2 separate regions of the Homo sapiens genome follow, and region 2 is linked to region 1. Evidence: promoter capture Hi-C in 16 types of primary human blood cells and fetal thymus (Javierre and others, 2016). All regions are on one chromosome and are shown on one strand. Each heading gives the region's core, a stretch centred on a gene start or on the middle of the fragment in contact. The rest is flanking DNA. Distances are from core to core; before and after follow the strand shown.

The links. The method cuts DNA at HindIII sites, captures the fragments that hold promoters and counts their contacts. A CHiCAGO score of 5 or more calls a contact.
Region 2: a fragment that was not itself captured here is called in contact with the fragment with the promoter of CD164 in region 1 in 1 of 17 cell types (naive CD8 T cells); the score reaches 5.1 in naive CD8 T cells.

The regions. Positions count from the first base shown.
Region 1 is chr6:109,380,242-109,385,943 of GRCh38, reverse strand. It overlaps CD164 (CD164 molecule), which reads left to right and starts at 3,477. Exons shown (of 6, transcript NM_006016.6): 1 at 3,477-3,740. The coding sequence starts at 3,566. RefSeq lists enhancers at 2,860-3,089, 3,170-3,519, 3,075-3,584 and a silencer at 3,740-4,019. The HindIII fragment of the contact is 6,848 bases long and covers 1,373-5,702 here.
Region 2 is chr6:110,391,656-110,397,357 of GRCh38, reverse strand. It overlaps DDO (D-aspartate oxidase), which reads left to right. Exons shown (of 5, transcript NM_001372108.2): 5 at 4,016-5,574. The coding sequence ends at 4,583. Among named protein-coding and RNA genes, the nearest start is that of DDO, 21 kb to the left of the region's middle. The HindIII fragment of the contact is 4,706 bases long and covers 538-5,243 here.

The DNA.
Region 1 (5,702 bases), core at 2,228-4,727:
CTACGCCGGGCTCCTCCTGTGCTTTTTAATGCAGCTAATTTTTGGCAAGGGTGGACAACTGACTGAAATAAGCCAGTTTGTTCATTTATTCATTTTTTTTTAATTAAGTGCAGGGAATAAACTGGTGAGCACTATTTCTGAGTTAATCTAGTGAGAAAGACAACTGCTATATAATGCAGTATATGCTTTGTTATGGGCAAGTCCAGGGTGCACAGAGCAGGAACACCTTTTGTAGTCTGGGAGTGGGGAGAAAGGGGTAGTTGAATATTTTAAGGATAGCTTAAGATGGGAGTGACAGCTTAGCTGAGAGACCTCAAACAAGTAGGAGTTGGTCAGATGCCAGAAGGGAATAAGAATGTTCTAGGCAGAAGAAATAGCATGGATGAAGATCCACATGCAAAAGAAAACATGACCAGTTAGGAGAACTGGAAGTTCAGGGAGCTCTAGTGTAGACTGCATGGATGGAGTCAGAGCAGAGAGTAGGTAACAGACAGGTTGGGAAGGCATGGTACTCAGTCAAGTTATCTCTTCCAAGAGCTATATAACTGGAATACTGGGCAATGGAGATGATTGGCTGTGGGTCTATAGATCTGGCAATGTCCTGTAGGGTTGAAGCCTGAAACGAAGTCCTAGCAAACCAGCTCCACGTGCTAGGGATTCCTCCTTTTAAGTTCAAGTCTCCCTTGGCCCTCACACACTTGATTTCCCACCCCTGAATGCCTATAAGATTTACTGTCATATTCTTACAGTGAATGGATTCCCTTTAACATAAGCTAGTACAAGGGGGTTTGTACTTCTTGCTATCAAGTAGTGGAGGCAAACCTCTGATTATTAAGGGGCCACTGGATGTTAGTTATAGCTAGAAGGCAGGGTCCTGTTTGGAGTGTTGATCTGTTTATTTGGGGAAAGGTACTGACACAAGGCTGAAGCATTGTTTAAAAATCTGCTGTTTAAAAAACTTAGAGGGAGCTTATACTGCTAGAAGATTCACAAGCGCAGAAGCACTCTGTCTTGCTGCTTTCAAGAAAATAAATGGTTAAGAAGGTCGCTCTAACAACCAATCGACAATCTAATTGCAAGCAATGTGTCTAAGAGGAAATAACCTGAGTGATGGCTGACCTTGCACACAGAAGAACGCTCTGAGGGTGCCTTTCAATTGTGATTTTACCCCCAGGAGACATTTAACAATATCGGGAGATATTTTTGGTTGTCACAACTGAGAGGTGGGGTGCTTCTGGTATCTAGTGTGTAGAGGCTACGAATACTGCCGAATATCCAACAATGCACAGGACAAGCAAGAATGAGTCAGCCTGAAATCTTGATAGCGCCAAGATTGAGAAACCCTGCTCTATGACAACAATAAACAGAAGCTTACTGTCAGGAACTGAAAAAAAAAAAGCTGTCTCTCTGAAATGGTGAAAATGACTTTGGAACTCCCTTGATCTACCTCTACAGTTGCCATGCAAAATAAAATAAACCAATGGTTTTCTAGTCTTAAAACAAGAGCGTGAAATGTCCCTTTATCAGGACTGAGGAATATCTGAGGACTAGAGTTAAACATCCAGGTGACAAATTGTTAAACAATGGTCTGCACAGAGGAGTGTGTTTATCCTAGGGTGGAAAGAAGATAACACACCAAGCTCTGAGAACAGAGCTTCTATTTACATTTTTTTTTTTTTTTTTTTTTTTGAGACGAGTCTGGCTCTGTTCCCCAAGCTGGAGTGCAGTGGTGTGATCTCGGCTCACTGCAACCTCCGCCTCCCGGATACAAGCGATCCTCCTGCCTCAGCCCTGCTAGTAGCTGGGATTACAGGCACGTGCCACCATGCCCGGCTAATTTTTGTATTTTTAGGAGAGACGGGGTTTACACCATGTTGGCCAAGCTGGTCTCAAACTCCGGACCTCAGGTGATCCACCCGCCTTGGCCTCCCAAAGTGCTGGCATTACAGGCGTGAGCCACCGCGTCCGGCCCCTATTTACATTCTTAACCTTAAAAAAAAATTAAAGTTGCCTTGCGCTTTCATTTGGTCTGGGTGCCAGATAGTCAAGTGTTAAATATAGAGAGAGGCCTCCTGAGAGAAGAGCAGACACTTCTCTGAAGGGCTTATGGTGGGAGCTCACTTCCCTGACAGCATTCTCATGCTTCTGGGCTGGATCAGTCAAAACTATCAGCTTTTTGTTTACATCCAAGCAACACTACTCCAACTAGCGTAGTCATTGGAACAAATGTTCATAGTCCTGAGGGTACAGAAGGACGACACTGAAAAGATCCCAAGGGGAAATAAAATCTTTCTATTTGAGCAAAAAGGTAAAAGCACTATGTAGTCATCTTTTTTGGCACATCAAAAAAGTCATCGTGGCACATCAAGACAGACCTCACGAAAGCAATTAATATTCCTATATTATTAGGATAACTTTGCATAATTAAAATTACATAAGTGTACAACAGCTGAAAACACAGCATTAAATACAACTTTTAAAGTCTAATTTTTACCATGTGATAACCGTATCAAATTTTGCGAATATTTTGTGAGACTTGGCAGTAGATGGCGCTCACCTTTACTAAAAGTCTGAGCAGCGCCTTAACACTAACAGGAACTTAAGAATCCAGCTCTGATGTCAGGCAATCCCGTGTCCAGGTCAGGTCACTTTTTTAAGTCTCAGTTTCCTCACTGGTAATGTGGGGGTGGGGGCCTCCCCAATGACCTCGCAACTCAGACCGCTTTTGATTCTCTGACTACAGTGGTGGAGTTGAGACAGGTCGGCTGCTGCAACCGCCGTCTGAAATAGCAATCCGGAAAAGTCAGGTTGGGAAAGTGACAGAGTAGACGCCCTGCGGCTCTGATCCGGGCGGCGCCTCAGCTGCCCACACTATGTGGGCGGCAACGCACAAACTCCTTAACCACGTGGTGCCTCCATTCCCCTAGGGAGTCCCATCACAGGATAACTTCTAGCAAAATCAATCTTCAAGAAAAAAAGAAGGGGTCCTGCCGAAGATATAAGGAAGCTCCCTGGGGATCCCGCAGCACAGCACAAACTTAGTTCTTGAGAGCCGCACAAAACCAACTTCCGCCCCAGTGGAGTTGCGTCCGGAAGGCGCGGCCCCGGAGGTCACGTGGGCCCGCGGAATTACAGCCTGGCGGGGCGCTCAGGTGGAAGCAGTAGGCCACATTATGTCGACTGTTCCATGCAAGTCAGGGTGGGGGCCGTCCCTATCGCAGGCATGAGACAAGTCCAGCTGCGTCGTGTCTGGTAATCTGAGGGCAAGAAGAACGATTTGCAGAAGCTCCCAGTTTTCTTGGCTGTGGCACAGTCGCTTTGAGGGCCAGGTTCCTTCGGCTTCCTCCCGACTCCCCTGCTTCCCCCCGTAGGATTCCCGTTGGTATCGTCCGAGCCCCACCTCCCTCCTCTTCGCCCCCGCACGCCGAAAACAGGGGCCTCTCACGTGACCCCTGCGCGCTCCCGCGGGGGAGCGTAGTCTCGGAGGCGGCGCCGCAGGGGATTGAGGGGTTGACTGAGCGTTGCGAGCCTTAGCTTTCTCCCGAACGCCAGCGCTGAGGACACGATGTCGCGGCTCTCCCGCTCACTGCTTTGGGCCGCCACCTGCCTGGGCGTGCTCTGCGTGCTGTCCGCGGACAAGAACACGACCCAGCACCCGAACGTGACGACTTTAGCGCCCATCTCCAACGTAACCTCGGCGCCGGTGACGTCCCTCCCGCTGGTCACCACTCCGGCACCAGGTGGGCGCGGGCCCTGTGGGCTTCCCGCCCTCCCCTGCCCAGCCGAGCCGCACTGCCTCCTCGCCGTGCGGGCGGGGCCCGGGTTCGGGCCACGGTCGGGCGGGCGGGCCGCGCTCGGGGTGCGGCGGCGACTCCGGCAACATGGCGGCCAGCCTGGAGTCCACTCGTGGCCGGGCCGGGTGGGGAGCGCGCTGGGGGGAAGCGGACGCGCGGTTCCCAGTGGCTGCGGGGCTGGGGCCCCCCTCGAAGTGTTGCAAGTCGAGGTGCCTTTTAAAAGTGCATCGTAATTCCTAGCCTCACTTGGGGTCGGAAATGGGGACGTGGCTTCCTTCCGCGGGGGCAGCGGTGGGGTTGAGGATGGGGCCGGGCGTCGCGCCTCTGAGGTTGGCGGTGGGGCCGAGCTGCCTCTCCCTGCCACTGGTTGTTCACCCTCCCGGCGCCTCTCTCCGGAGGTAGCCTTCTCCGGAAGTCCGGGAAAGAGAAACTTAAAGACGGTAATGCTCGTTCGTGTCTCAGACTTGAGTCTGAGAAGGTCGCTTGAGATTTAATTACATTGGTTTTGCAGATAGGAATAGAATGTAGCTGACGTTTGAGCACGTAGTTAGTGAAAACTTCACACTTCAAAGTATGCGAAAAGGAAGAAAAGTACCCATGTATGTACCGGGTGTTTTGCGTACGTATCCTAAGGCTAAACTGGAAGGTAGGTAGTGAAACCTAGGAGGTAGATGCAGAGACGGAGATGAGTAAACTCTCCTGACATTGTATGTTTATTCTTTTTTCAATTGTTTTTAAAATTTTCTTAACTATGTCCTGTGCTCAGATAGCGTATGTTTAGTAGGTCGTGGAACGGGGGTTTGTGCCCAGGTCTGTGGGTTTTCTAAAACCCGATCAGGAGCGTGTCTTTTGTTATGTGCAGTCGCATAGGGCTGGTTAAGGCATACATACATTTTAAAGCAGAAATTGCCATATACCGTGACAACACAAAAGAGAGAAGGAAGATAAGTTTGAGGTAATAAGCGGGAGAAACACTAGAGGTTTAAAACCTGCAGTCTCGTATGATTGGTTATTCTAGTTAACATTAGTTAAGGAGTAATGTTTACGTAGTTAACATTGGCTTCTTGACCGAAGAATGCCGAAGTGTAATGATTTTTATCACGGCATTCATATTCTACAAATTCTCCTCTAGTTTTAGTATTTTATAAAAGTTTAATAAAGTATATAGTAAACTTAATGTTTTGTTTTTAGTTTAAGGAAGATGTAATGGTAACATTTCAAAACGAGGGAAGTAAATTGCAGTATAATACTGGGAATTCTAACCGCACTATTTTAAGATGATAGAGCAGAATATGTTTGTCTCAGTCTTAATTTGACAGTTTCCTTTCAGAATTGTAGTGTGTGTGTAAGAGAAGGTTGGAAGTATCAAATTAATTTGTCTTTGTGTAATTGAAGTGCGTGCAAAGGAGGTATGTATTTTCTGGAAATCATAAGTGGATGTAGTGTGGTCTGAAAGGTAGCAAGTTTAGTTCATTGTAAAGAACATTTCAGACATTTCACTTTGCTACACCCGTCAAGCACAAAGGTTTTTAAACAGCATGTTTTATCTATACAAACTTCAGAAAATTTATTTTTACTTTATGAACCCTTCCCCACCCCACCGTACATGTCCCAGTCTTTAATAAGTACTAATGATGAAGTATTGAAAGCAGTGCCTCTGCAGAACTATTTTTTAGGCAGGAGCAAAGCAAACGAGAATGTTTGGAGGCATCTAGTTTCTAGGAAAATGAATGGAGCCCAATTCTTTTTTTTCTTTTATTTTGCTGCTTTTTCTCACTGGAAAATAGAGCCCAATTTTATAGTCCGTTCTTCTCCAGAAATTGAATTATGGTGATGAGTACTTGTTTCTGGATTGTTTGGCCTAGGATGAACTATTGACAAATACCTTGTTAACCTGAATTGTATGCA
Region 2 (5,702 bases), core at 1,641-4,140, 1.0 Mb before region 1:
TAAAACTTTTCAAAATTGAAATATCATCCTTAATGAAACATAAGTGATATACAGGTATGGAGGATAAGAATACACATAGATAATGCACTGGGTCTTGTATTTTACAGTAGCATGAAAAACCCCTAAGCACTTTTTTAAAAATAAAAGGTCTTTATTGAGCAGCTATAGTGTGTTAGACACAGTGTTATGCTTTTTCCAGATGTGTCTCATTTCATTTTCACAACGAGCCTAGAGAGTCAGTATTACTACCCCCATATTATGGATATAAGATTAAAGTTTAGAGAAGTGGAATAACTTGGCCGAGGTCATATGAATGGTAAAGGGTAGAGGCCTCCTAAGCTCTTTTTAAAGTTCTTTTCTTCGTGTTCACTTTTTGGAAGATTATAAACACACAGAAACATGCTGCTCAGTATTACTACAAAACTCCAATTTACTTTTCTTTCTATGCCAATGTTAAGGGGAAAAACAACCTTTACAGTTATTTTACCTTTAAAAACATTTATCTATTATTACATGTTTAAGAACATAATTTAAGCTTCTAAATTGGTTATTCTTACTGAGAGAGCCAAAAACAATCTGTCCCCATAAAATTTGCTATATTTAGTACTTTTTATCTATGAACAGTTTTACTTATAAAACAAACAAACAAACAAACAAACAAACAAAACAGTAGCTCCAGCTTCATTCTCTCTCTTTTAACTACTTTTAATTACATCAAAAAGTAATCCATTGGCTTTATTGGTTCTCTGTGGCCCCAAAGTGTAGATGCTTGCCAGATTCTTTTCTTTGGTTTCCTTGTCTCAGGTAAACAATATACTCCCTTCCTTGGATTTTTAGAATAAAAAGCAACCGAATTTAGGTTCTGTTGTTTGAAGCATTGATGCTGGCAATGCAGCTTGCATTTAATAGGAAGTGCAGTGCAGGTTCATGTGATCTCAGAGCAAGCATAGCCTCTGAGTTCTTCTTGCCTCCTAAGGGTGCTGGGCACAGTACAAGCCCTCAACAAATACTTGTTGAATAATCAGTGAGTCTAATCCAGAGGTTTCAAACTGTTCTTGAAACTGCTCGGTGGACATACTTCAGAGGTCTCTGCAGAGGGAGGGAGTGTGAAGAGACTGAGCAGATGGAGCTCTGCCCAGCAGCTTGACCTTCAGTCAGATGCAGAGAACTGCAAAGATGCTGAGATGACAGCCTGTGGCTTGTACTTGATGGAATAGGAAGCTGAGCTATTGGGGTCAGGGTCTAAGATGCCATTGAGTAGCAATCTTGGTCTCTTCCATGCTCATCAACGTGAGGCATTCTCTCTCTTTCTCTCTTTCTTTCTTTTTTGAGTTGGTGTCTTGCTCTGTCTCCTAGGCTTGAGTGCAGTGGCGGGATCTCGGCTTGAACCTCCACCTCCTCGGTTCAAGGGATCTTCCCATCTCAGCCTCCTGAGTAGCTGGAATTATAGGCATGCACCACCATGAACATGAGACATTTTCTAGAAATGCAATCCAGCATCAGAAGGCCAGTTTTCTGCTGATCTTAACACAAGTTGCAGTTAAACTTTCCAACCAGGAAGTGGGGCGGAAAGTTAGAATCACTTCAAAGAGTCCCTCCTTGCTAAGTTAAAATTAGTTGTCAAACCCATGCCATCATTGACCACCATTGCAGAAGTTTCTGTCTTTTTTATTATTTTCCTTCACATTAAACCTGTTTATCTGGCCTTGAAAGTAGATAGCGCTCAGAACTGCTGTGATGATCACTTCTGCTCTCTTAGGGGCATGCAGGATACAAGCATTCTGCCTCCATTTTCAAGGTCAGCCCTTCCCAGTTTCTCCCTGAAACGGCTTGGATTGCGGCAGTCAGAGAGAGAAGATGCCAAAGTTCTGCCACCCTGTATCTCTCTCCAGACAAAAAGAATGAATAGGATGTGTAAGATCGGCAGGGTGAGTTGGCAGGCAAGCAGGAGACCCAGGAGAGCCAATGGTGTAGCTCTAGTCCAAAGGCCAGCAGGCTTGAGACTCAAGAAGAGCCAATGTTTTTGTTCCAGTCCAAAAAGAGGAAAAAGCCAATGTCCCAGTTGGAAGGCAGTCCAGCGAAGGAATTCTTTCTTCCTTGGAAAAGAGTCAACTTTTTTGTTTTATTCAGGCTTTCAACTGATAGGATGAGGCCTACCCACATTAAAGAAGGCAATTAGCTTTACTCTGCCCACTGATTTAAATGTTTTTCTCATCCAAAAACACTTTCTGCAGAAATACACGGAGTATGTTTGGCCAAATATCTGAGCACCCCATAGCCCAATCAAGTTGACACATAAATTAACCATAGCAGGTCCAAACCAGGATTTCATATTGTCTTTAGTATTGGCTAACACTTACTTCCAGTCCACTTGGTGTGGGGCACTTAGCTAGGTCATAGGGATGGTAAGAAACATAAGATACAGTCTCTCCCCTTGAGGAATTCGTGATTTATTGATATCGGTCCTCTAAGATGTATTGTGATTGACGACTGTTCAAAGTTGTGGCCATTATTTTATTGTAACCTCACAACCATCCTGTGAGACAGGCAAGGGAGGTATCCTCCCCATGATGCAGATGAGGAAACTGAGATTTGAAGTGAGGTGAGTTGGCCAAGAGCTCAAAGCTAATGTGAGGCAGAGCTGGGATATAAAGCCAGGCTTTCTGATTTCACACCACTTCTCCTGTAGAACTTAGTCCATTCTGCCAAGCATTTACACTTCTGTCTGCCAGTTCCTCTGTCAGCCCTTGACGAAGGGCACTGTCACTCACACCCTTCTGGTCCCTCTTAGCAGTGCCCCGCATGCAAGCATTCGGCCTGCGTCTATTGAACAGAGCTGCTGATAGTCTCTTTCTCTATTCTACAAGTGACCTGTGAATAAGATTACATGTCCTGGGGGTTATTGTTTATTGGGTAGACTTTCCATTTTGCAAGATTAAAAAAGTTCTGGAGGCCAGGCACGGTGGCTCATGCCTATAATCCCAGCACTTTGGGAGGCAGAGGCAGGTGGATCGACTGAGCTCATGAGTTGCAGACCAGCCTGGGCAACATGGCAAAACCCTGTCTCTATCAAAAATACAAAAAAATTAGCCGGGCATGGTGGCACACACCTGTGGTCTCAGCTACTCAGGAGGCTGAGGTGGGAGGATCACTTAAGCCAAGGAAGTCAAGGCTGCAGTGAGCTGAGATCACGCCACTGCACTCCAGCCTGGGTGACAGAGTGAGACCCCATCTCAGAAAAAAAAAAAATATTCTGAAGATGGATAGTGCATATGGATGGTGATGGCGGTTGCACAACAAGGTAAATGTGCTTAATACTACTGAACTTTACACTTAAAAATCGTCAAAATGATAAATTTTATGTTAAGTGTATTTTACCTTGATTTAAATAAAGACTACAGGTACTGGATAAACCATTTCTTTTCACTATTGATATAGTTGGTCCAAAAAATATAGTAATTACCAACCACAGCTGCCATTTAGCTCATCAGCTACAAATATTTTGTGTTCTTCTCGTGCTAACATAGTTGTGGACATAAAGCTGGTGGGGATATGACCCCTGTACCTTTTAGTTAGGGAGACCAGGCTAATACAAAGGATCATGCAAGAGTTAACAATATGAGATAAAATGTTTAAGGTAGTAAATTTAGGTGTTAAATAAGTGGTATAAATAAGAAATGCTTGGACATTTAAAATACCAAATCAACTTGGCATTTATTCAGCATCTAGAATAATGTAGGAATTTTACAAAATTTTAAAAGGGCAAAGCATATAATTTCCTTTGTTTTGAATTTTCAAGTGGTTTCCATTTAGATTCAACTTTAGAAATCCCCAGTTCCTAGGATGTGAAGCAGTTGATGGCTAGAATTTGGCCTGACTGGGCCCTGGAAGCTCCTGAGGTGTTTGTTCATCAGATCATCACCTAATTTTTGTTCCTGGGTTCCTTTTCTTTATTTCCTGGAAGTAGTTGATCAGGTCGCTAACAAATATTCACTTCATGGCCTCTCTTCCGTAGGATAAAGGGAAGTGGAGGCTGGACACTCACTCGGCGAATAGAAGACCTGTGGGAACTTCATCCGTCCTTTGACATCGTGGTCAACTGTTCAGGCCTTGGAAGCAGACAGCTTGCAGGAGACTCAAAGATTTTCCCTGTAAGGGGCCAAGTCCTCCAAGTTCAGGCTCCCTGGGTGGAGCATTTTATCCGAGATGGCAGTGGGCTGACATATATTTATCCTGGTACATCCCATGTAACCCTAGGTGGAACTAGGCAAAAAGGGGACTGGAATCTGTCCCCGGATGCAGAAAATAGCAGAGAGATTCTTTCCCGATGCTGTGCTCTGGAGCCCTCCCTCCACGGAGCCTGCAACATCAGGGAGAAGGTGGGCTTGAGGCCCTACAGGCCAGGCGTGCGACTGCAGACAGAGCTCCTTGCGCGAGATGGACAGAGGCTGCCTGTAGTCCACCACTATGGCCATGGGAGTGGGGGCATCTCAGTGCACTGGGGCACTGCTCTGGAGGCCGCCAGGCTGGTGAGCGAGTGTGTCCATGCCCTCAGGACCCCCATTCCCAAGTCAAACCTGTAGATGACATAAAATGACAGCAAAGAGACTGAGAGACTGTTGATCAAAGCACAGAACAGGTTCAAATAACTTTTCCACTGCATGAAAGTTTAATTAGACATTTCTTTGTTTTCAACATTAGAAGTGGTGTAACATGTAAGCTGAGCACGGTGGCATGCCTATAGTCCCAGCTACTTGAGAGGCTGAGGCAGGAGGATTGTTGAGCCCAGGAGTTTGAGTGCAATCTGGGTAACATTTTTTAGAGGTGCCAGTTCCCACCTCTAAAAAAAACACCAACAACAAAAGAAATGATGCAACATGTAGGCTTACTTAGGAAGTCCAGCATTAATGGCATAGGGCATAAAGCTCTATTTTTTGTTAAAAATACTTCTTATAGAGTAAAATTTATTTAGAACTGATGTCCAAGGACCTATGCAGATTTATATGAATGTTGGAAGCTATAGAGATTTTGATATCATTTGGCTTATAAATCCACAGGAGGAGATAATGTATGGAAAACATTTAAATCACTGTCAATTGCAGAGCTGCCTGTGATCTTCTTAGGTTATAGCCAAGTCAGCAACATAATTCCTCTAAATAAAATTACATTGTGCTCACACAGTGCTGGATTATTACATTTAATTGAAGACAAAGCATGCTTGCTCCTAGTACTAGCAGCAAGCTTTTCCTCCCCTCAGCTGGTAATGATGGTAGGAGACAGAGATGAAGTTGCCTATGTATGTCATATCAATTCAATAGCTGCCTGGGGTCAAACACCTAGGGGTTGTACATTCCATTACTGTAAATGATTGAGAGCTGGTTTGTGGTATGGTTGGCTTTGCCTAAGCATTTTTGAAGATGAACAGCATGTGCAGCCAAAGAACTAATTTGCTAATTAAGGTGGAACAATCATTCTGAATGAAATATAATCAGAGTACTCCGCAGTTTGTTAAGAAGTATTGGGGAGGAGGGGAATGTGTCTCACAATAAAATGAGTTGGAATTGTTGAGTTAAATGAATTTAACCTGTTTTTTGACTCAGGCCTACTCAGAGCCTCTAATGTGTGCACGTGTATTGTGAATCCTCTAGAGAGCTTGGGTGGACGGAAAATGAAGTGCTGGTATTGAAGTAAAGAGGCTTGAG